Regions from separate parts of the Homo sapiens genome. Here all the other regions are linked to region 2. The links are contacts of gene promoters, found by promoter capture Hi-C in blood cells and fetal thymus (Javierre and others, 2016). All regions are on one chromosome and are shown on one strand. The core of a region is centred on a gene start or on the middle of the fragment in contact, and the rest is flanking DNA. Distances in the headings are between cores, read along the strand shown. Region 1 overlaps MTMR14 (myotubularin related protein 14). Region 2 holds the start of GHRL (ghrelin and obestatin prepropeptide). Region 3 holds the start of CAMK1 (calcium/calmodulin dependent protein kinase I).

Region 1 (3,595 bases), core at 800-3,299, 620 kb after region 2:
TGTCCCCCTTATTTGGGTGTGCAATGGTGTCTCATCCCATCTCCAGCTTTTTTATTTTTATTGATCCTCATTACCCTCCCTAACACACATACACTGTCAGATACAGTACATACAAATTTTGGTCTCTTTTGATGCCTTTTATTTGTTTTTGTTTTTATTTTTGTTTTGAGACGGAGTTTCCCTCTTGTTGCCCAGACTGGAGTGCAATGGCACAATCTTGGCTCACTGCAACCTCCGCCTCCTGGGTTCAAGCGATTCTCCTGCCTCGGCCTCCCGAATAACTGGGATTACAGGCATGCGCCACCGCGCCCGGCTAATTTTGTATTTTTAGTAGAGATAGGGTTTCTCCATGTTGGTCAGGCTGGTCTTGAACTCCCTACCTCAGGTGATCTGCCTGCCTCAGCCTCCCAAAGTGCTGGGATTATATGCGTGAGCCACTGCACTCGGCTTTTGATGCCTTTTATAACAAAAAAAGCTTTGGGGAAAGCATTCAGGCATCTTAACATTTTGGCACACTTCCTTTTAAGCCTTTTTTATAAGCACATTTTCCTTTACTTAGTTGAGAGTATACTATGTGATTCTGTATCCTGCCTATCTTAAGCTCTGTGACGTTTTCCATGTCAAAAAGTGTAAGCATTTTCTATTTTTTATTTTTGGTAGAGACAGAGTGTCGCTGTTTCCCAGGCTGGTCTTGAACTCCTGGGCTCAAGCAATCTTACTGCCTAGGCCTCCCAAAGTGCTGAGATTAAAGGCGTGAGCCACCATGCCCAGCCCATTTTCGATTCTTCTATGACTATACAATATTTCATTCTACTGAGGGATGTGCCATCATTCAATCATTATTCTGATTAGTGAAAACATTTCTTGTTTTGCTATTACAAATAGACATCATGATGAACGTCCTCAACACCAAGTGGCTGAATTACAGCCTAATGACCAATTATTAGAAAAATACCTGGGTCAAAGGGTGATAACATTTTGGGAGTCCTGTAACAAGTTGCCAAACTACAGCAGAAAGGACACTGTGCTACTATTTTGGAGCAATGTTATTTATACTTCTAGCAAAACTATTTTTTCCAAACCAAGTCCTACTTGGAACCTAAATTTAAACGAAGTGATGCCTGGTTCCTCAGGCAGTGCAAACCTGCAGAGTTCAGTCTGTGGAACCCCCGAAGCATCTCCTGGGAGCTGGAAACTATGTCTGAAAACCAGCTATGGAGTTACCCAGTGGTTCCAGTGTGGACCCCCTTAGGTAGGATACACCCATCAGTGTGGGTCTGATACTGCCAAGCTCACTCCAGCATCATTATCATCATCATCATCATCACCATCATCAACATCATCACCACCATCATCATCATCTGCATCAGCGCAAACTTGCTTTTAGGGAAAAGGAGGTTCCCTGAAGCTTTCCCAACTACTCATCATTAGGCCTGTTATTTACAGGACACCTGTTATGGAGGGGTCTGGCACTTCACTCTTAAATAAGCACCATTATCTTCATTTTATTAAGGAGGGAACTGATGCTCAGAAGGGTTATAGGACTTGTTCAAGGAGACACAGTGCTAGGGCTGGGATTCCTGCCCCCAGCTTGCACATGATGAGGACACCCCTCCCACAAGGCACTAGATGAACCTGCCTGCCCTTGCTCATGGCTATGTGGCCCCAATATTGAGGAGATAAGGTCCAACACAACACTGAAGGCAGATGCTGGTGCTGAGAAATAGGAGAGAGGTTTTAAGGAGAAAGAGTATTTACTCCCTGTTGTCTGCTGACAACATCTTGCACTGATGTTAGAGGTCCTTGGCCTCCCTTACTAAACAGGCAGGTATTGCCAGAAAACTTGAATGCTACACACTAGACCAACAGCTTTAATATCCAGTGCAGAGAATACAGCCCTGGCCACAGGTTGCACACACTTTTATGTGCCAGGAACAAATGCAGCTTTGTGGATACCAATGTGCTTTGCAACATGGTGTGGCCACTGTCCAGTTACTGGGAACATAGCAATTATGTGTTCTTCTACCACCAGAATAGCCTTGCCTGGGGCAATTTCCATAAATAACTCAATCACTTCAAGACATGCACCCAAAGGGTGACATCCACTCAGGCTACAGCAGCAAGTGTAGTTGCTCACACAGAGTACTAATAATGTCATTTTACACTTAAACAGTATTTTCATGCACAGACCACTTTCATATAAATCAAAACTGAGCTAAATCGTTCCAAGCTCCTGAGAAAACTTGAGGCTTGGAGGGGTGAAGTACTTCACTCAAGGCTGTGGCTAGGACCAGTGACAGTACAAAATCCCTAAACCCCTTGAGTGGAAAGCCCCTTCCCCAGGACACTATCCTATGCTTAGTGTGGCCTGTGACTGGGAACCAAAATGTCCTACACTGCCTGACACAAACCCTCCAGGAAAGCTCCCAGGGCGCCAGTGTAACTAAGTAGAGAGGGCTTGCTCATGGCCCCCAAGGTCCCCAGTCCTAGGATGCCTGCCACTAGAAGAGAGCCCCCTACCTGGATACGGGATGGAGAGGAGAGTGAAGTCGGCATAGCGCTGGGCTTTGTCCACCTTCTCAGAGGAGGTTACACTACAAGACAAGGATACAATGTGTTACAGTGTCGCAACACACACACAAACACACACCATTCCCCAAATAAGGGTTATAATCACAAATGAAGCTTCTGCTAAAAAAAACTATTCTTCATTGTTAATAATTCCCTTCAGCAGTGCCTACTTTGTACAATTAAGAACTATAACTTCAGCTGGGTGCATCGGCTGGAGGTCATGTTCCCAACATGGAGAAACCCCGTCAAGACCAGCCTGGACAACATGGTGAAACATTGTCTCTATCAAAAATATAAAAAACTAGTGGGGTGTGGCAGCGCGCTCCTGTAATCCCAGCTACTCAGGAGGCTGAAGCAGGAGAATTGCTTGAACCCAGGAGGCAGATGGTTGCAGTGAGCCAAGATTGTGCCACTGCACTCCAGCCAGGGTGACAGGGTGAGGCTCCATGTCAAAAAAAGAACTCTACCTTCTCTGCCCCTATTCCAACATATCAACCAAGGGAAGTTACTCCCCCTCTAATACTACAGCAAGCCTCAATCAGAGCCTAAAGGTGGAAAACAACCTTCCACCTGACCCCAAAATGCACACAGTGTAGCCACTCTGACCCAGGAATGAGATGAGAGCCAAATAATATGATCCTATGGGAACCCTTTTTTTCTGCTCTCCTGTCTTCTCTAATAGTCACTGAGCCCACTTCTGAACAGGGTGAACAAACAGCATCTGAAAATAAACACTGGGGACTCTGACAGATAAAGGATGGGAGGAATAAGGCAATATTCAGATCTGAAGATAGGTGAGCTCTAACGTTAGCCTCAGTATGCCTTATTTTCTAAGACCACCTTTTAGGATCATTTAAAAACATTTAAAAATCATTTAAAAAACAAAATTTTGGAAAAAGTTCCTGAAGTCTCATCACTAACCCAGGCTCTATTTTTTAGTTTTGACTTCTTATATTTGAATTTGGTCCATATGTGTTATTTTTATATGACAGCAGTCACTGAAGTAAAATTTGAATATATGCTG
Region 2 (3,805 bases), core at 282-2,781:
AGGTCAAGTTTTGAGGGGCCAGGACACAGCAAAGAAGAGGACACAAGGAAAGGGGAAGGAAATGGAGATGGTAACACGAGGGGAGGGTGGGATCGGTGCACAACAGACGTTTTCAGGATTAGGAACCTGGGTGTATTTTAAGGCAGAAAGCAGAAGCCACTGGAGGGGAACAGAAGACACGAGAGAGGCAAAGTGTTAGAGCTTTGGCCCCAAGATGGCCGGAGGCTAGGGAAGCCCCAGTGAGAGAGGCAGAGCTTGGCGAAGAGGAGGGATGAGAGAGCATGGCTAAGGTCAGGGAGGATTTAAGAGCGATGGCCGCCTATCTAGAATGAGCCGCATGTGGCTGCTGAGCATTTGAAACATGGCTAGTCCAAATTGAAATGCACTGTAAGAACACACACTGGATTTCAAAGACTACACATCTGTAATCCCAGCACTTTGGGAGGCAAAGTCAGGCAGATCACTTAAGCCAGGAGTTCAAGACCAGCCTAGGCAACATGTCAAGACTCTGTCTCTACAAAAAATACAAAAATTAACTGGGTGTGGTGGTGTGACCTGTAGTCCCAGCTACTTGGGAGCCTGAGGTGGGAGGATCATCTTAGTCCAGGGAGGTGGAGGCTGCAGTGAGCCATGATAGTGCCACTGCACTCCAGCCTGGGTGACAGAGCAAGAACCTGTCTCAAAAAAATATATATGTATATTCATTTAGACATATGCTGTTGCACACTTAGACTATAGTATGGTATCAGCATACGTTTTATATTTACTGGGAAACCAACAAAATTCGTGTGACTTGCTTCATTGTGGTCTGGGACCAAAGCTGTAATGCCTCCAAGGTATGCCTGTATATTTCTATTGCAAAATGTGAATCTCGAAATTATAAAAGCTACAACTAGGACAAAAAGCAACCCCACCAAATAGCCCTATATCAAAGAATAAAATCTCTTTCTAGAACCCCAGAATTTGCCTCTTTCAGACTGAAGTTTAGCCAAATCTATGAAAAAAGAGCTTGCTAAACCAACTAATTATCAGTACAAATAAAATTATAATGAAAAGTCTATGAAGATAATTTGTTCTCAGATGCCCTTCACATATAGCAATTAATTCACAAATGATGAGTCACTCATGTGCCTTCATGAAGGCAGGCCCTCAAGAGACCCGCAACAGAAAGGAAAGCCACCGACTGGAGAGAACCTGCTTCCTGAGCCCCACCAAGTTCCAAAAAGGAGAATGGGGCTTCGTCCTCACCCTCAAGGAGTTGCCAAACTGGGCTTGGTTATTATTCACACTTGAAAAGAATGAGGAAGGTCAGCCAGTCCCCTCCAGGTCGCTCGGGCTTCCTCCAAGCTCCTCTTGGTTCAAATTTGCTGTGTCCTCCAGCCGGCATCTCTCCTCTGTTCCGTAACTGACAGGGCAGCGAGGTAGCTTCCGGATGACTCCTCCCGCCATGGTTCTTCCGTCCATCAGCTCTTCCTTCCTCAACTCTGTGGTATGTGGCTAGGGGAGTTTCCAACTCCCAGGGGACATTTCAGTTCCCCAAAGATAACACAGCTTTGCACAGTGGATGTTTACTTGCTGGTGGTCTTATCTAAGATCAACATTGGCAGCTGTGCCCGGAGAGGCCTCCAGGGTCCAGGTAAGTGGAGGCTTCATGTCTCAGGAGGTACCTGGTCACCACAGTTAGGATTTTTCTGTTTGGGGATTTTTTTTTTTATGGGTTGGTGGCTCTGAAAAAGCTGCAAGTCTTCTCTGAGGACTACAGACCTCTCTCCACCCTCTCCACATTCAGCCTCTCTGGGCTCCAGGGCCAAAAGATGTCTACACTCAGGTGGCAGACAGGCCTGTGAAGACCTCCTGGTGACATGCTCATATGTTGCTGGGACTAAAGGTGGGATTTTAGCCACCACAGTGGGTTGGTGGTGAGATGTTTACCAACAGGAGGTACTTTGTCCCTCATGTCCACTTAAAGATTCAGTCCAACCCGGCCTGTGCTTCTGCTGTCCCAAGAGACTCTAGAAAGCTCCAATCCTCCCTGAGGTTGATCTTTTAAGTCAGGGTAGGTGGTCATTCGGCAATCAACTGCTCTACTGCCTCAATGTCCTCCTCACTGGACGTCCTGCCCCAATTCCATCCTGTTCAGCGCAGACTGATTTTCCTGGAACACAATGTTCATTATGGAGCCAGATGGCATATCAGAAAGAGCACTGTATTAGGAGTCAAGAGATCCATGGGGGAATCCCAGCATTGCCCCTGATGGCTGTATAGCTTTGGGGAAAGTGAGGCCCTCTTGGCATTCAGTTTTTCTTCCAGCGAAATAAAGGATTCAGCCTCCCAGAGCTTTAAAGTCTTTCCAACTCTTTCATTCATTCTATGGTCTCTCTCTCCTCAAGAATCCTCAGTGGCTGCCCTCCTGCAAAAAAAGCCCAAACTTCTTGGGCTAGCAGTTCCCAAGGCATCCATCACCTGGCCCCAAACCACCTTCTTATGTTTTTGTTATGACCCCATCGCCACCCTCCCCCAAGCCACCCAGCCTTCTCCATGCTGCCCTGATGTACTCTACCCACGCCTTCACCTCCCCTCTGCTTGCCGCAAAGCCCTCCCTCCAAAGCCCTGCCCCGAGTTCACCACAGGCCTCTTTCCTGGAGCCTTTGCTAACATCCCTGCCGCAAGCCCCAGCCTAAGGTGAGCTCCTCTCCTGAACTGCTAGAACTTCTCTGCAGACAACTCATTGGCCCTTAGGGGTTCCTGCCTGGGCACCCAGTTGGATGAAGCACTCCAGAAAGGAAGAAATTCCTGGGGCCGAGGGAAATGAGGCAGTGGCCTTGGCCTATGCTGGGAAGTCCTATGGGCCTGGTATGAAACCATTGTCATCTGCAGGGTGTTTCACAGGTTAGAAGCCACTTTCCCCCCATCGCCTCATTTCACCCTCAAAGACTCTGGGTAAGGGGAATTATTTGTGGTCGGCGTAAGGCCAGTCAATGAGAGAGGAGCCAGGCCCGTGCTAAGCGTAGATCTTCCACCTCCAGGTCCAATGCACTTCCCTCTCAGAAGAGGCATCCGCTAAAATAGGGACCAAAGCTGCTGGAGGGAGGCAAGGCAAGCTGCTATGTGAAAAAACGCCAGGCCAGGCAGTCATGTCACACCTGGCAGAAATGACTGAAGCATAGCCACTGGCTGAAGTTATCCCCACACCCACTCTCTGGAGAGGATGATCAGGAGCAGTCTGCTCAACCGGGAGGTGGGACTCCTCCTCGGGAAGGTGTAGAATCACCAGCCTGGCTCCCTGCGGACTCCCGGGGCTCACAGAGGCCAGAGCAGCAACAGCACATGGGAAACAACGGGGCGCTGGACTGGGGAGGTCTCAGAGCTCTCCTAGTGATGACAGCCTCATTTTACCCAGGGAGAAAGGGCGAGTAAGCTAAGGTCACACAGCAACAAAGCTGCACCCAGACCCCAGAGCCACTCTCCTCCCTCCCTCCTCCACCAGGGCCATGCCCACTTGGGGCACCCCGCCACCGTGTTCCAGGGACAGCTGGAGCACATGCTTCTTCCCTCGCCAACCCAGCAATTCCGCAGGGCATCTGACCTCCACTGTTGACTTCTACCCAGAGGACAAGAACATTTTTAGTTCCCAAGGAATGTACATCAGCCCCACGGAAGCTAGGCCACCTCTGGGATGGGGTTGCTGGTTTAGAACAAACGCCAGTCATCCTATATAAGGACCTGACAGCCACCAGGCACCACCTCCGCCAGGAACTGCAGGTAAGCTCTCTCTACTCTCCGTGTGCGTTTGCTGACAGGTTTA
Region 3 (3,915 bases), core at 294-2,793, 520 kb after region 2:
ATAGAATTCTCAGAACTCTGAGTCAATCTTCAATATTCCCATGTTCCCGAGTAAGAAACTGAGGTTCGGAGAGGTAAAGCATGACCAGGATCAGTTAGACTCCAAAGCCTTTCCAGGAACCTCAGCTATCTTCCTCTCTCATCTGTAAGATGGGCATAATAAATTGGCCAGGTGCAGTGGCTCATGCCTGTAATTCCAGAACCTTGGGAAGCTGATTGGGGAGGATTGCTTGAGCCCAGGAGTTTGAGACCAGCCTGGGCAATATAGTGAGATCCCCATCTCTACAAAAAATAAAAAAGCCAGGTGTGGTGGCACGCACCTGTAGTCCCATCTACATGGGAGGCTGAGGTAGGAAGATGACTTGAGCCCAGGAGTTTGAGGCTGCAGTGGGCCGTGATCATGCCATTGCACTCCAGCCTGGGTGACAGAGCAAGACCCTGTCTTAAAAAAAAAAGAAAAAGAAAAAAAGAAGAAGAGAAAGAAAGAAAAAAGAAAGAAAGAAAGAGAAAAAGGAAATGAGCTGGGCATAAGCACTGTTCTCTCCCCATCACCAGCTGGAACATGCAAGAATTCAGGAGTAGGGAGTGGCACTTGGAGGCCCTTGGAGGTGGAGTGGGGTCCCAAGCAACGTGCCTCCTCCGGCTGCCCCCAGTTCAGCCCCATCCCCAATTCCTGCGAGTTGCTCCCCCCGCCCCCTCTTTCCACTCGGCACCAAATTTCTTCCCAAGGAAGGCCTTGAGCAAACCGACCTTTGGCCTCTTGCCTGCCGTCCTAGTTGCAGGCTCTCTCCCCTAACCTGGACCCCAGCCATCAAACTCTGGAGCCCCGCCAGTCACGTGACACCTCGGTCCTTTTTGGCCTGTTTCCTTCAGGATCCCGATTTAACTTCCTCCTCCCCAATTCCCTCTGCCCCCAATACCTCTAGGCACCACCACCCGCTCTGAGGAGCAAGTGTCTGGGGCTGAAGCCTCAGCTCCATCTTGCAGAGGAACCGGGGCCTCAGTCTTCCCACCTGTCAAGTGGGGCCCACACCCTGCGACCACCTCCACTCTCTTCATTGCCTAGTCTTGCCCGGTCCTTCCCCACTCCCTCACTCCCCCATCCCCCACCAGACTCCCGTGCAGTTCCAGGGCCTGTTTCCCTTCAGGGCACGGAGAAGGGAGACAGAGCCCTAAGGGAGGTCGCAGAACTGGTCTGAAAGAAAATCCACCAGGCCACAGGGTGAGTTTGGCCGGCCTCTAGCTTCAGACAGACGGGGTTCGAATCCTGCTTTGCTTCCGACCACCCGCTGATTTGAAAATCATCTCTCCGGGCCTCAGTTGTCCCCTCTGTGAAATGGACCCCGCTTAAGACCAAGGGCGGGAAGCGTCCAGCAGGAGATCTCTGACCAGAAGCAGGGAGATGGCCTCCACCCGTGCCCCTTCCCCAGCCTTGGAGCGGTGCCTCGCCTCCCAATCCCGGGTCCCTCCGCCGCAGGCTCCACCTCCACTGACATCAGAGCCGCAGGCGGGCGGAGAGAGCCGCCGAGCCGAGCCGAGCCCCAGCTCCAGCAAGAGCGCGGGCGGGTGGCCCAGGCACGCAGCGGTGAGGACCGCGGCCACAGCTCGGCGCCAACCACCGCGGGCCTCCCAGCCAGCCCCGCGGCGGGGCAGCCGCAGGTACAGCCGGGCCCCCCATCCCTGCACCCCTGGGCGCTGCGTGGGGGCGGTGGGAGCCCCTAGCCTCTGGGTATCCTTTCCCAAGGAGTGGCCACTGGGCACTCTCCCGGGCGGGCTGGACCCTGAGGGGCAGGGCTGGGCCTTTCTCCACCTCTGTCCCAGGCCCAGCAGGTGCCAGGCGGGCCTATGGGACACTGAGTGGGTAATAGAGAAGGGGGCCTGTGTGAGCGCCTTCAGCTGGGCCTGACTGGAAGGGCGTGGGCATTTGGAGGTATCCATGGGGTGGGGGGGCTTGCGGAGTGTACTGTCTTAGGACAGGCGTGTGGGTCAGACATGGGTGGAGGATCTGGGAATCTGTGTGTTTTTTGTTCCAGAGGGGTGTCCACGTGTTTTGTGTGCTGGTATTTGGCTCTCAGGGTCTTAAGTCAGAGTTAGGAGGGGGTGTACAATTGTGTACTGAGGATGTTTGGAGTTAGGTGTGTAAGGACTTGGGGTTTGGTTTGGAATACAGGAGCTTCCAGGGGATGGGGTAGAGGAGCTGGAGGGTGTAGGGTACGTCTGGTATATGAGGGTGTGTGTGTGTGTGTCTGGGTGTCATCTTGTGTGGGTGCGGGTGGATGTGTGTTTTGGGGTGTAAGAGGGAGCTGGGTGAGGGATGTTTGGATGGACAGGCAGGTGTTCGGGTGCAGGGCTGTCTGGGGCACTGTGTGGTGTGGACATGTGTGCTGATGTCTGGGAGTACATGTATGATCAGGTGTCACGGGATGTGGATACAAGGCGTACTGGATCTGGGAGGCAGGTGTTTGAGTTCAGGGCTGTGGAGGGGGCTTGGTGTGGCATGTCTGCTACAGGGATGTGTGTGGATCTGTGAGGGTTGTATTTGGTAGGCCTCCATGTGGGTTTCAGACTCTGCCTCTAGAGCTTACACTCGAGTCTCCTTTCCTAGAAGATTCTGCCCCTGGATGGGTGGGCAGGGTCCCCTGGGAAAAAGGTCCTGTTCCAGGAGTGGAATCTCACACCAGAGGCCCTAGTCAGGGCACCTTCTCCTCATTCTCCCTTAGAGAAAAAGAGAGAAGGAAAGTGCTCTCCCTGAGGTCACAAAGCATGCTGGGCTCTGTTTTGGCCTCATCTGTGGATGGGTTGGGAGGCTGTGTTCTCTGAATGGGGCCCATTCTGGCTTCATATTGGAAGTACCAGCCAAGGCCATTCGATGGCCTTTGCCCTCAGCAAGCTTAGCTGGGGGCCCCAGGCCAGGTGTCATTAGGGCCTCTGGAGCCAGCCTCTACCTAACTCCAACCTCAGTCTCCCCATTCTTCATCTGATAAATGGGAGAGAACTCCCACCCTCTCCTGCTGGATGAGACAGACCTCAGCAGAGGAAGGGCCAGGCTGGATAGGGTTAGATGGGGCCAGGAAGGGACAGAGTGAGCAGGACCATTTCTCATGCTCCCGGGACCCAGATGGGGAGTCAGGAGGGAGAGGTCTGGGGAGCTCCAGCTGTGGCTGTTGTTGCTGTGGTAACAGTGCAGAAAGAGCTATTTAAAAATGTGGCTGAGATGTTGCTGGAAGCCCAGGCTGCTGGAAACCTGATTTCGGAGAGGCCGGGGAGTCGGGGGAAGGAGGAGGGAAAGGAGACACCCCAGCAATCCCCAGGGTGGGGCGGGGACATCACTGGTTCTGGGGACAGGGGGATCCTCCAGGCTTCTACCAGCTGCTCTGGGGGTTTATCTGTTGTACTGCCAGAAGTCAGGGTTTCCCTAGGTGCTTGGATTTGGATAGGGGGAAAACTGGGAAGAGAACTAGAATAAATGAATGAATGAATGCATGACTTTGTTAAATAAAGAATTTTGCTGCCACTGTGAAAGGTTTTTCTCTAGGCATGAGAATTTGCTGAATGTTGAATAAACAAATGAATGTTTGTTGAATGATTTTGTCAAATGGATGAATCAAGGATGAATAAATGCAGGTTGAATGACTGAATGGGGCCTGCAGTAAATTCCCAGACAGAGGGCTGGGCTCTGCTGAGTCTCCTCCTTCCATTCTCCTTACAGGAGCCCTGGCTGTGGTCGGGGGGCAGTGGGCCATGCTGGGGGCAGTGGAAGGCCCCAGGTGGAAGCAGGCGGAGGACATTAGAGACATCTACGACTTCCGAGATGTTCTGGGCACGTGAGTCCAGGGCAGGATTGGGTGCTGGATGGCTGAGGGAGGCTGAGTCCAGGGTGGGGCTTCCTCTGGTCAATTAATGCTTCCTGTTTCCC

Evidence for each region. Contacts are between HindIII fragments. The CHiCAGO score rates a contact against its expected background, and 5 or more counts as called.
Region 1: a fragment that was not itself captured here is called in contact with the fragment with the promoter of GHRL in region 2 in 2 of 17 cell types (non-activated CD4 T cells and total CD4 T cells); the score reaches 5.5 in non-activated CD4 T cells.
Region 3: a contact is called between the fragment with the promoter of CAMK1 here and the fragment with the promoter of GHRL in region 2, in 7 of 17 cell types (naive CD4 T cells, total CD8 T cells, monocytes and 4 more). The highest score is 7.0, in naive CD4 T cells.

What each region holds. Positions count from the first base shown.
Region 1 is chr3:9,671,684-9,675,278 of GRCh38, reverse strand. It overlaps MTMR14 (myotubularin related protein 14), which reads right to left. Exons shown (of 19, transcript NM_001077525.3): 7 at 2,521-2,594. Among named protein-coding and RNA genes, the nearest start is that of MTMR14, 24 kb to the right of the region's middle. The HindIII fragment of the contact is 1,277 bases long and covers 1,411-2,687 here.
Region 2 is chr3:10,290,673-10,294,477 of GRCh38, reverse strand. It overlaps GHRL (ghrelin and obestatin prepropeptide), which reads left to right and starts at 1,531. Exons shown (of 6, transcript NM_016362.5): 1 at 1,531-1,636; 2 at 3,027-3,762. It overlaps GHRLOS (ghrelin opposite strand/antisense RNA), which reads right to left. Exons shown (of 6, transcript NR_073568.1): 6 at 1,029-2,410. RefSeq lists enhancers at 1,339-1,633, 1,444-1,693, 1,704-1,773, 3,285-3,805. The HindIII fragment of the contact is 7,186 bases long and covers 1-3,805 here.
Region 3 is chr3:9,767,575-9,771,489 of GRCh38, reverse strand. CAMK1 (calcium/calmodulin dependent protein kinase I) reads left to right here and starts at 1,543. Exons shown (of 12, transcript NM_003656.5): 1 at 1,543-1,658; 2 at 3,709-3,823. The coding sequence starts at 3,741. It also overlaps a transcript of OGG1 not described here. RefSeq lists a silencer at 1,593-1,772. The HindIII fragment of the contact is 10,493 bases long and covers 1-2,891 here.